Linked DNA regions of Homo sapiens: all the other regions are linked to region 2. Evidence: promoter capture Hi-C in 16 types of primary human blood cells and fetal thymus (Javierre and others, 2016). All regions are on one chromosome and are shown on one strand. The core of a region is centred on a gene start or on the middle of the fragment in contact, and the rest is flanking DNA. Distances in the headings are between cores, read along the strand shown. Region 1 has its middle 15 kb from the start of PTPN23. Region 2 holds the start of TMIE (transmembrane inner ear). Region 3 overlaps KLHL18 (kelch like family member 18).

What was found. The method cuts DNA at HindIII sites, captures the fragments that hold promoters and counts their contacts. A CHiCAGO score of 5 or more calls a contact.
Region 1: a fragment that was not itself captured here is called in contact with the fragment with the promoter of TMIE in region 2 in 1 of 17 cell types (endothelial precursors); the score reaches 8.5 in endothelial precursors.
Region 3: a fragment that was not itself captured here is called in contact with the fragment with the promoter of TMIE in region 2 in 1 of 17 cell types (total B cells); the score reaches 5.9 in total B cells.

The regions. Positions count from the first base shown.
Region 1 is chr3:47,363,882-47,367,496 of GRCh38, forward strand. No RefSeq gene overlaps it. Among named protein-coding and RNA genes, the nearest start is that of PTPN23, 15 kb to the right of the region's middle. The HindIII fragment of the contact is 1,655 bases long and covers 1,368-3,022 here.
Region 2 is chr3:46,700,015-46,703,919 of GRCh38, forward strand. It overlaps TMIE (transmembrane inner ear), which reads left to right and starts at 1,378. Exons shown (of 4, transcript NM_147196.3): 1 at 1,378-1,566. The coding sequence starts at 1,474. The HindIII fragment of the contact is 54,343 bases long and covers 1-3,905 here.
Region 3 is chr3:47,342,792-47,346,514 of GRCh38, forward strand. It overlaps KLHL18 (kelch like family member 18), which reads left to right. Exons shown (of 10, transcript NM_025010.5): 9 at 1-39; 10 at 764-3,723. The coding sequence ends at 1,150. Among named protein-coding and RNA genes, the nearest start is that of PTPN23, 36 kb to the right of the region's middle. The HindIII fragment of the contact is 8,623 bases long and covers 1-3,723 here.

The sequences.
Region 1 (3,615 bases), core at 945-3,444, 660 kb after region 2:
GGGATGGAAAATGGGATGGGATAGGAAATGGGGTGGGAAAAATAAAAATAAAAGCAGAGAGGGGGATTGCGCAGACCAAGGAAGATAGCATGTCAACCCACCCCCGATTAAGGCATAACTCCTTGTATATAAAATTAAGCACCAATCAACATCCTAACAATATCATTATTAGGGCATCTGAAAGAACGTTCACTAAAGTATGCTTATCTCTATGTTTCTTCTTTTAGCTTTTATTATTTGAAAACTTTCAAAATAATAAACTTTCAGTTTTACAAAAATAACAAAAGTATTTTAAAAATGCCCATGCGGAGTCTGCATTTTATTCCACAATACATCTGCAACTTTTTTTTTTATTTTTTTGAGGTAGGTCCTGCTCTGTCGCTCTGTAGCTGGGTGCTCTGCATCTGTAGCTACAGGCATGAGCCACCAAGCCTGACTAATTTTTTGAGGAGGCAAGGGTCTCACTATGTTGCCCAGTCTGGTCTCAAACTCCTGGGCTCAAGCAATTCTTCCACCTTGACCTCCCAAAGTGCTGGGATTGCAGGCATGAGCCACCATGCCTAGCCAGCTTTTTATTTTTTATTTTTTATTTTTTTTGAGACAGAGTCTTGCTCTATCGCCCAGGCTGGAGTGCAGTGGTGCCATCTCGGCTCACTGCAACCTCCACCTCCCGGGTTCAAGTGATTCTTGTGCCTCAGCCTCCCGAGTAGCTGGGACTACACGTGCCTGCCACCACACTGGGCTAATTTTTGTATTTTTAGTAGAGACAGGATTTCACCATGTTCGCCAGGCTGGTCTCAAACCCCTGACCTCAGGTGATCTGCCCGCCTCGGCCTCCCAAAGTGCTGGGATTACAGGAGTGAACCACTGCACCTGGCCAAATTATTATATTTTTTATGTTGAGTTGTCTATAAATGTTTTAACATTGAAATATTTTGTATTGGGCCGGGCGCGGTGGCTCACGCCTGTAATCCCACCACTTTGGGAGGCCAAGGAGGGCGGATCACGAGGTCAGGAGATTGAGACCATCCTGGCTAACATGGAGAAACCCCGTCTCTACTAAAAATACAAAAAATTAGCCGGGCGTGGTGGCAGGGCGCCTGCAGTCCCAGCTACTCGGGAGTCTGAGGCAGGAGAATGGCGAGAACCCGGGAGGCGGAGGTTGCAGCGAGCCAAGATTGCCCCACTGCACTCTAGCCTGGGTGACAGATCCGAGACTCTGTCTCAAAAAAAAAAAAAAGAAATATTTTGTATTAATATTTCCATGGTGGGGCAGAAACTCCAGTAAAATCAACCCTTTAGATGCTGCGGATGTGTTTGTTCAGGGACTGTGTACTCCCAATACATGACCCGCCGTCAGTTTGAGAAGCTTAGATTGTCCCCACCATTGACAGATGAGGAAAATGAGGCCCCTAGCCAGCTTTTTAAAATGTTCAATAGAACTCTTTTTATTGAGATAAAGTTTATGTACCATAAAATACGCCCTTTTAAAGTGTACAATTCAGAACATTGTCATCAGCCCCAAAAAGAAACTTTGTACCATTAGCAGTCATTCTCCCATGTTCCCCTCCTCTCAATCCCTGGCAACCAATCCACTCTGCCTTTATGGATTTGCCTATTTAGGACATTTCATGTAAATGGAATCGTGTTAATCTGTGGCATTTGGTGTCTGGCTTCTTACACTTACTTCGGTATTTTCAAGGCTCATCTATGTTCTGCCGTGTGTTAGTACTTCATTCCTTTTTATGGCTGAACTGTATTCTGTGGTATGAATAGTCCACATTTTATTTATTCATTCATCAGTTTATAGCCATTTAGGTTGTTTCCATGTTTTGGCTATTATGAATAATGCTGCTATGAATATTGATATATGAGTTTTTGTATGGAGATATGTTTTCAATTATCCAGAAATGTATAGCTAGGAGTAGAATTTCTGGGTTATATGGTAACTCTATGTTTAACTTTTTGAGGAACTGCCAAACTGTTTCCCACAGAGGCTGTGTCATTTTACATTTCCGCCAGCAATCTGGGAGGGTTCCAATATTCCCATACCCTTGCCAACATTTGTCTCTCTCGCTTTTTTTTTCTGAGACAGACTCTGTTGCCCAGGCTGGAGCGCAGTGGCTTGATCATGACTCATTGCAGCCTTGAACTCCCAGGTTCAAGCGATCCTCCACCTCAGCCTCTCGAGTAGATGGGACTACAGGTGCATGTCATGACACCTGGCTAATTTTTTTTTAATTAAAATTTTTTGTAGAGATGGGATCTCACTATGTTGCCCAAGCTGGTCTTGAACTCCTGGGCTCACATGATCCTCCTGTCTTGGCCCCCAAACTGCTAGGATTACAGCTGTGAGCCACCATGCCCAGTCTGCCCCTCTTTTTTTATTACAGCCATCCTAGTGTGTATGAAATGATATTTCACTGTGGTTTTGATTTGCATTTTCCTAATGGCTAATGATGTTGAATATCTTTTCTTGTGCTTATTGTCCATTTACATATCATCTTTGAGAAATGCCTATTCAAGTCCTTTGCACATTTTAAAATTATTATTATTACTATTATTTTTTTGAGACAGTCTCGCTTCGCCCAAGCTGGAGTGCAGTGGTGCAATTCCAGCTCACTTCAACCTCCACCTCCTGGGTTCACACAATTCTCCTGCCTCAGCCTCCCGAGTAGTTGGGATTGCAAGCGCCTGCTACCACACCAGCTAATTTTTGTATTTTTAGTAGAGACTGGGTTTCACCGTGTTGGTCAGGCTAGTTTCAAACCCCTGACCTCAAGTGATCCATCTGCCTCGGCCTCCCAAAGTTCTGGGATTACAGGTGTAAGCCATTGTGCTCAGCCAAATTATTATGTTTTTTTATTGTTGAGTTGTCCATAACTGTTTTAACATTGAAACATTTTGTATTAATATTTCCACGGTGGGGCAGAAACTCCAGTAAAATCAAGCCTTTAGATGCTGTAGCGTGTTTGTTCAGGGACTCTGCACTCCCAATATGTGACTCCCCATCAGTTTGAGAAGCTTAGATTGCCCCCAGCATTGACAGATGAGGAAAATGAGGCCTGTACAAGTTAGGAAACTGGCTGGGTGTAGTGGCTCATTCCTGCAATCTCAACACTTTGGGAGGCTGAGGCGGATTGCTTGAGCCCAGGAGTTCAAGACCAGCCTGGGCAACATAGCAAGACCCCATCTCTACAAAAAAATAAAAAATTAGCCAAGGGTGGTGGCATGCACCTGTAGTCCCAGTTACTCAGGATGCTGAGGTGGGAGGATTATTTGAGCCCAGGAGTTCAAGGCTCCAGTGAACTATGATTGCACCACTGCACTCCATCCTGGGTGACAGGAAGATCTTGTCTCTTAAAAAAAAAAAAGAAGAAAAAAAAATGTTGACCGGGTGTGGTGGCTCATGCCTCTAATCCTAGCACTTTGGGAGGCCAAGGCGGGCAGATCACCTGAGGTCAGGAGGTCGAGACCAGCCTGGCCAACATGGTGAAACCCCATCTCTACTACAAATACAAAAATTAGCTGGGCATAGTGGTGTGCGCCTGTAATCCCAGCTACTCAGCAGGCTGAGGCATGAGAATCGCTTGAACCTGGGAGGCGGAAGTTGTA
Region 2 (3,905 bases), core at 128-2,627:
CCTGACTGGTCAGTGTGGCTTTCCCTAGCCTGGCCTGTGACCAGCAGCATGAGGAAGTGGGGATTGGAGTGCTGCAACAAGTGATTTGGATTTTAGCAGAGTTCCTGTTTGCCTGGCCAGGGCATGCCTGGGGAGGACTGGGTGGCCCAGCCCACTCAGTCCCCAGACTTTACCTCCCACTGTTGAGCGTTTCCTCGATGGGTCTCCTGGGCTGCAGTCCTTCTCCAACAGCTCTCGTTTTCCTGCCTGGCTGTCATCTCCGGGCCCTGACACTGGCAGGTGACCGCAGGTGGCCCTCCGCTCCCTGCTGCAGCCTGCTGTGGTCCTTGCCCATTCATGGCATGTCCAGGCCAGAACCTCACAGGGCTCTGGAGCCACAGGGTCTCCCTGGTTCTCAGGGCAGGCCTTGCTGGGCCATCCCCAGCCTGCGCAGGCCTTCACCAGTGCCCCTGGTGATAAGGGTTCCAGGGGCCCAACACCTGGGCTGCTTCTCCTAACACTCAGCAGCAGGAGATAAATAAGAATAGAAGGAAGGAAGAAAAGGAGGGAAGGGGAGTCTACCAACTCCAGGCCTCCCCACTCCTCTTCCTAAGTCTTCAGCCCCCACCCAGGTCTCTACATCTCCTCAGAACCTCCCTCTGTCCCTCAGTTGTCAAGGCTCAACATGGGGTCAGGGCCAGAGTGCAGTGTGGGTCAACTTCAGCATGAGGTCAGGGTCCTGGCTTAGACTGAAGTCAGAGTCAGTGTTCAGGCTGGGGCAGAGATTGAGGGCAGCCAGGGTCAGAAAATGGTCCTCCAGCCCTTCCAGGGACAGCCCACTTCTGTCCTGTGGGGCTGAAGATGCTGGCTTCTTCTGGAACCCTCCATAACACTGCCGGCTGGCAGCTCTGACCATACCATCCCCTGCTCTCCAGCTCTGGTGTCCAGGGTGACCAGAGCCGCCTCTGGGCAGGAAGCCAAGCCAGAAAGCCCAGGACATCCCTGAGCGCCTGTCACCATGGCAACCTGCCCGCTCTGCCCCCCCCCCAAACTCAAATCCAGTATATTTTTCAAATCCAGCATGACAGAATGGGAAGGGCCTCCTAGATCAGCAGATTCCAGTCCCACCCCCTTGTCCCAGATGGAGAAACTGAGGCCCATTTGCAGAAGGGAGGGGGACCTGTTGATTAGGGACCTGGCCCCAGCCTGTCCTCCCTCCCGCCCACCCCCACCTCAGTGTCCCTGGGGATGCGGAAGGTGGGGGCAGGGAGGGGGAGCCTGCGGCCCGATCTCCCGGGAAGGAGGGGGCGGGCCCTCCACCGCAGCGATGGCGGGGGCGGGCGGCGCGGGAACCTGACACCGAGGATGAATAAATGATGCTCGCTGACTACCCGTGGCCAAAGCCCGTGGCCACCGAGCGCCGGCTGGCAGGGGCAGTGACCGGCGGCCGGCCCGTTCGTCCCTGGGCTCCGCAAGCGGCGCGGTGGCACGAAGATGGCGGGGTGGCCGGGCGCGGGTCCCCTCTGCGTGCTGGGCGGCGCCGCACTCGGGGTGTGCCTCGCGGGGGTTGCCGGGCAGCTGGTGGAGGTGAGGCCGCGGCACGGAGGGACTGGGGAGGCTGTCACCCTCCAGGCAGGGGGCTGGGGGAGAGGGGACGCCTTTTTGATCCGGAGCTTGTTTGATCCCTTACTCTTGCCCTGAGAGATCCAGTCTCCCGGGCGATGCAGCCCTGCCCCAAGCCCTGCCAGGCTGTGAGAGAGACTCAGCCCCACTCTTAGGGTCCCTGGTCTGATGGAAGGGCACAGTACCCGATTTCTGGAACATTAGTCTGACGGGGGAGACTCACCTTGACCTTAGGGATTCCCAGCCTGACTTGGGGACACAGCCCTGCCCAGACTGATGGGGGATACTGGGCCCCCATCCTCCAGCCTTTGGTCTCACTGGCAGGGAGGTGCACAGCCCTGGGTTTCCTGGACCTCTAGTCTGATGGAACAGACCCTGAATTTAGGGTCTTCTGGAGGCAACAGCCTCTATCTCCAGAGATGTTCCAGGGACCCCTGTCTAATGGAGGGGGAGACATAGCCTTAAGATGGAGACGAGGGCATTCCAAGTTGGAGGGTGGGGGCAGCAGGATGAGGAGACCCTTTACAGAGAAGCTATGTGGAGCACTAGGTCCAGAGGGGCAGGCAGGGCAGGACCTAGGGACTGGGAAGTCTGACTTGGTCCTGGTGATAACCGGGAGCTTTAGAAGGTTTCTGCTCAGGGACAAGTCATGATGAGTTCTGGTTTGGAAGGAGGGTAAATTGGGAGCAGGCACACAGTGGGAGAGGTGGGAGGAGCTGCTGAGATAGCACAGAAGCTGGGGGAGAGCCCTGGTGGAGAGCCTGGCTGGGGCCAGGAAGGGTGGGGCCATCTGTAGCCTCCCTAACCCCCTTGTACCCCACTCCTGCGGAGCCTGAAAGGGGAGCCAACGAGGGAGCTGGCAGACCAGACCTAGAGTTCTGAATTGTGAGGCCAGAGGGAGAAGGCCCAGGAGCCAGGGCCAGGGAGGAGCAGGGGATGGAGGCTGTGCAGGCAGGGGCGGACCAGAGGGAGCAGGAAAACAGAAATGCAAGAGGCAGTGAGAGGTGCCCAGGGAAGTCCTGAGGGGTGGGGGCTTGGGGACAGTGTGGGATAGAGAGGACAGAGCCATGGGGAAGTTGTTATGGGGGGACACAGCCCTGAACTGGAGGGTTTGATGGGGACATAGGGACAGAGCCCTGGACCCAGATGTAGCCTGTCCCTGCTGTTGCCCAGAGGGCATGACCACAAGGCTGGGCTAGAGTCAGGTGTCAGCTCCAGTGTCCCTGTAAGGGGAGCTATGCTGGCTTGAGCCCTGTGAGGCGTACTTGGGCCCCTCACAGGCTGCCCTGAGGCCTGGGTACAGAAACTGAGCTGGCCTAGGTGCAGACAGAAAGCTGGGGGTGGGGGTTAAGTCAGTTCTCAGCCAAGGACTCTTCTCCCTCACCCCCAGGAACTCATCTTTTCCCAGTTCTAGGGAAATTGCATTTGGAGGCCATCTGCCTGACATCTGCCTACAGTCTGAGCAAGGCCTTAGCTCTTCCCTCACGGAAGCACCAAAGACATGGGCAGGGCTGGGGGCCATGTCACCACCCACCTTAGCCCTGTGTGGGTCACCATCACCCTCCATCAGCCCGTGAGGCTCTGAAGGAGGTGGGGACCTCCATGCTCCAGAAATCAGACCCCAGCAGGGCCCAACATGAGGAGAAGACCAGCTGTCATCTGCTGCCGTCCACCCAAGACCCCTATCAGTAAGAGTAGGCCCAGCTCCACCCACATCAGGGCTGGGGCAAGAATGTGTAGGAAGTGAGCTGCCTTGGCTCAGAACCTGAGAACTTTGCCATGGCCCTCAGAGTCTTCCAGTCATACAACCAGCCGGGCCAACACATTGAGCCTTAGAATTAGGGCAGCTGCCACCATCAGGGCCCTAACCCTAATGGCACAGACATGTCCCTGACCACACCCACATGCATGCCAACCACACATGTGCCCAACCTCACACATGTTCCCCAACTTTATGTACATGTCTGACCCCACACATATATCCAGGGGAAAGTACTGAGGAATGGTGTCTTCTTGTCAATAGCTCACCCTGGCAGGGAGAAAAGAGCCTGAGAATCAGGTACCAATCCCAGCCCACAGATCCTCTGGGTTACCTGGGACAGGTTGCTGATCCTCTCTTGAGTTCTGCAACCCACGCTGAAGGGTGGCATTCACTAGATGAAGAAGCGCCTGGCTCATGACAGATGCCTAATCCATGTTTACGGACCTGGGGGAAGAAGGGCTGGATGGTCGAACTACAGGTTGCCTTTCTTCTCAGAGAACCAGAAGGGACTTCTCGTGTCTGTCCTTATTTAGTAATCAGT
Region 3 (3,723 bases), core at 1,028-3,527, 640 kb after region 2:
GTGTCAGGCGGCCATGATGGTTTGCAGATCTTCAGCAGTGTGAGTCTGGGCTCCCCCTGGGATAAGGGTACCTACTTCTGTCTTTGAGATTTATTTTAGAAGATCATTATTTGAAAAAACTTCAGCCTTGCCACAGCTGAATAAAGTATCATCTAGTGAGGTTTCAGGCTATCCACTGCACCTTCTGAAATTCTGAACTTCCAGAGAATGAGCCAGTGTACACAAAAGAAGGGCAAAGGGTAGTCACATCTGCAGCCACCACCCTGTTCTACTGTCTGTTGAACACTACATAGAACTTGTGAGATTCCTGCCCAAAGTAAGTTCAGTTATAGACCAAGTGTAAATTTGCAAACAGTTGTATTCTTTTGGATAATTTGTTTGAAATTGTATTTATTCTGTAAAAAAGGCTCAACAGCCATTTACTAGTCATTCCATAGTCAGTCAGTGCTGCAGTGGAGAGCCCTGGAGATTACAGGAGACCCAGCTCTCATACAGGTTCTGTCACTACCTAGCATTGCATCCTTGGGCACATCCTTTTTGTTTCCTTAGATGCAAACAGAAAGGGTTAGGTGAGGTGACCTCTCCCTGTCCCCATACACCAAAGAGCAGGCCTGCAGCAGAGGGAATACTGGGAGAGCTCCTTGTCCCCATACCTCCCACAGGAGTTTGACATCATGGGGGGCTGCTGTGCCCTGCACGGTCACTCCATGGACTGAGCTTTGCCTCTGACTGTCCTGTACCTGTGCCTCTCTCCCCACTGCAGGTGGAACACTACAACCACCACACAGCCACCTGGCACCCTGCAGCTGGCATGCTCAACAAGCGCTGCCGGCACGGAGCCGCCTCCCTGGGGAGCAAGATGTTTGTCTGCGGGGGCTACGATGGCTCTGGCTTCCTCAGCATTGCCGAGATGTACAGCTCTGTGGCAGACCAGTGGTGCCTGATTGTCCCCATGCACACGCGCAGGAGCCGGGTCTCCCTGGTGGCCAGCTGTGGGCGCCTCTACGCTGTTGGGGGCTACGACGGACAGTCAAACCTAAGCTCAGTGGAGATGTATGACCCAGAGACAGACTGCTGGACATTCATGGCCCCCATGGCGTGCCATGAGGGAGGGGTCGGTGTGGGCTGCATCCCTCTCCTCACCATCTAAGGCAGAGGATGGGATGTGGTGGGGCAGGGATCTGGTACAGACATAGGCGCTTCCTTCCAGGAACAGTCCCTCAGGAGAGGCAGTGGACCAGAAGAGATGGCGAAACGTGAGCTCGCCGGAGGTACAGTTTTTCCAGGTGCTTAAGCCCTCCCCCACTGTGCCACCCTTGTGACCTTCAGGCTTGGGTCATCAAGATGCACAGCATGGAACACAAGCTCCTCTGGATCCTGCAGCTGGTGACATGGAACTGTTTTCTGGTCCACATGAACACAGGCTCCATCCAGGCCCAGCTCCTACCCACCGCCTCTCTGTGGGCCAGCTGTTCACAGAAGGCCTTCCATCTGATGCTCCCCATCGCCTGCTTGCTCTCCAGCCGAGTCTGGCCAATTTGCCATGGGGAGGCTGCAGTGTCCAAGCCTGCTGGAAACTGGGATGTAGCTGGGGACGAAAGGACAGACCCAAGCGTTCTCCCTGCCTGAGATGGTGTGGCCACAGCAGTGGAAGGCTGCACACAGGCACATTCCTTCTTCCACAGTGGGGCACCAAGGATTCTGTCCTCATTGCTGGGTAAGCAGGGAGAAGAGAAGTTTTCCCCATGTCTAATTTTGGGATTTCAGTGAGGCCTTTTGATCTGTCCAGGAGAACAGAAGGGAAAAAAAGATACTTGAAAGAAACTGAAGGAAATTTAAACAAAGAAACACTTGAAAGAAACTGGAAAGAAAAATAATTTTTTTATGTGAACAAATTTTGCAAGAAGAAAAAAGCATAAAAGACACTAACGGCAAATCTATGTTTAAATGGAAAATCGTCTAACTGGAGAAGGGCGGTATCCACCCCACATTCGGATCCCAGGGTCCTGAGGCCTCGCATTGAGCTGGGGGTTCCCTCTGAGCCCCAGTGTGTGTGGAATCAGTGCACTCTTGACTGGGCCTGTAGTAAGGTGCTCATGGGGTTTGTCTTCTCACCCACCATCAGAGGACTTTTAAAATCATAGGCGTAGAGAGTTAGGCTATCTGCTGAATTACTGCCACTCTTCTTGGTGGGGGCTCCTAGCTGTGGCTGGGGGCTCCAGGCGCCCCTGTGATTACCTCCTACTGCCACCATGGCGCTCATTCAGATTCCCCACTCTCACTAACATTGCTTCCTTTTTTGACCAGCAGGAAACAGCAGGTCTGGCCAGATTCTCACTTGCCCATCAATCTCGTTCTTGGATGATTTCCCTCATTGTGATGCTTCTGGGGCACGTTGACCATATGCACCTCTAGAACCTAACCAGGGCTTCCTTCTACCAGCTGTGGGCGGGCTTGGTCTGGTAACCTTGTCTGCTCTGCCATTCCACTGCTCCTCCATCCACTCGCCAATCCCAAGAGTCTGGCCTCCCTCCAGCCCTGGGCAGACTGACCAGCAAGGTGGACCTTTACATTCAAGCACAGCTGGCTTTTATGACATAAAGAACTAAAGGCCGAAAGAATCTCTTGCTGCTGCAAAGAACAGATTTTATATTTCTTCCTCTAATCTTGGCAAATGACCTTTACCTTTTGGAAAGATTTCATATTGCTTCCTCCTCCCTGGATAGGACCTAATGTAGCACAGCGGGACTCAAAGAGGAGGACATTTTCTCTTGCCAGTGCACTGGGCAGTGGGGCTGTCCTTCAACTGCTGCTGCCAAAATTGGTTTTCTAAAATTCTTCCAGTAGAGACTAAAAGAAGATTCAATTCCTGTAACCCAAGACTGAGTCTTAGGGCTCCAGTCTCCACCTGCTTGGTTTCCTATCCTTTGCTGCCTGCCTGGGGTGGCCTGGAAGCCTGTTCAGAAAGGCACAATGTGGAGCCTGGGGTGTCTCCCCCACCCCAGGACCGTCAGGTTTACCAGTGTGTGCAATCGCCATGTATTCAGAGGGAAGTACCTTTGTTACCTACAACTTAGGAGCTAGGCCTCTGCTACAAGCACTTGAAAATGATATTTTTATTTTTAACGTCTCAACAATCTGATATCGGATGTCGTTTAACCTGGGCTCGTGGTAGGGCTCCAGCATTTCTCCCTCCTTCCTGGTTTGCCTGTAGGGGTAGACTCGGAAGGTGGGTGGGGTGTGCATTTCCTGTTAGGAGTGTATCAGTGCTTGTCTTATTATAAGCCCCTTTCTTTTGTGAATTTGAAGTAGCACCAACAAGCCTGGATTGTGAAGGTATTAAGAATCGGTCTGTGGGCTACTGAGTGGGTCCTTAGGATACTGGCCCAGATTTTGCCACTGGGTATGGCAGATCATTTTCTACCATGGCCTGCTGCTCTTGTAGTGGACTTCCTGAGTCCAATCCCACCTCCTGGTGTAGAATTTACACTGCTGCACCTGAGGTCGATGTTTCAAAGTAAGATCAAGCCAGTGTTTTGATCTGGGCTCTGAGCACAAGTCAGGAAACACCAACATATTCACACTCTCCCAGTAGGTTCCTCAGTCCGATGGTGAATGGCTATTCGTAAATGGCTGGTCTGGCTCTTTGGTGTTGGAGCCTTTCCAATAGCCCCATGAAAAGAAGCATCACCCAAGGATATTGTAAAAAGGATGTAACAAGGA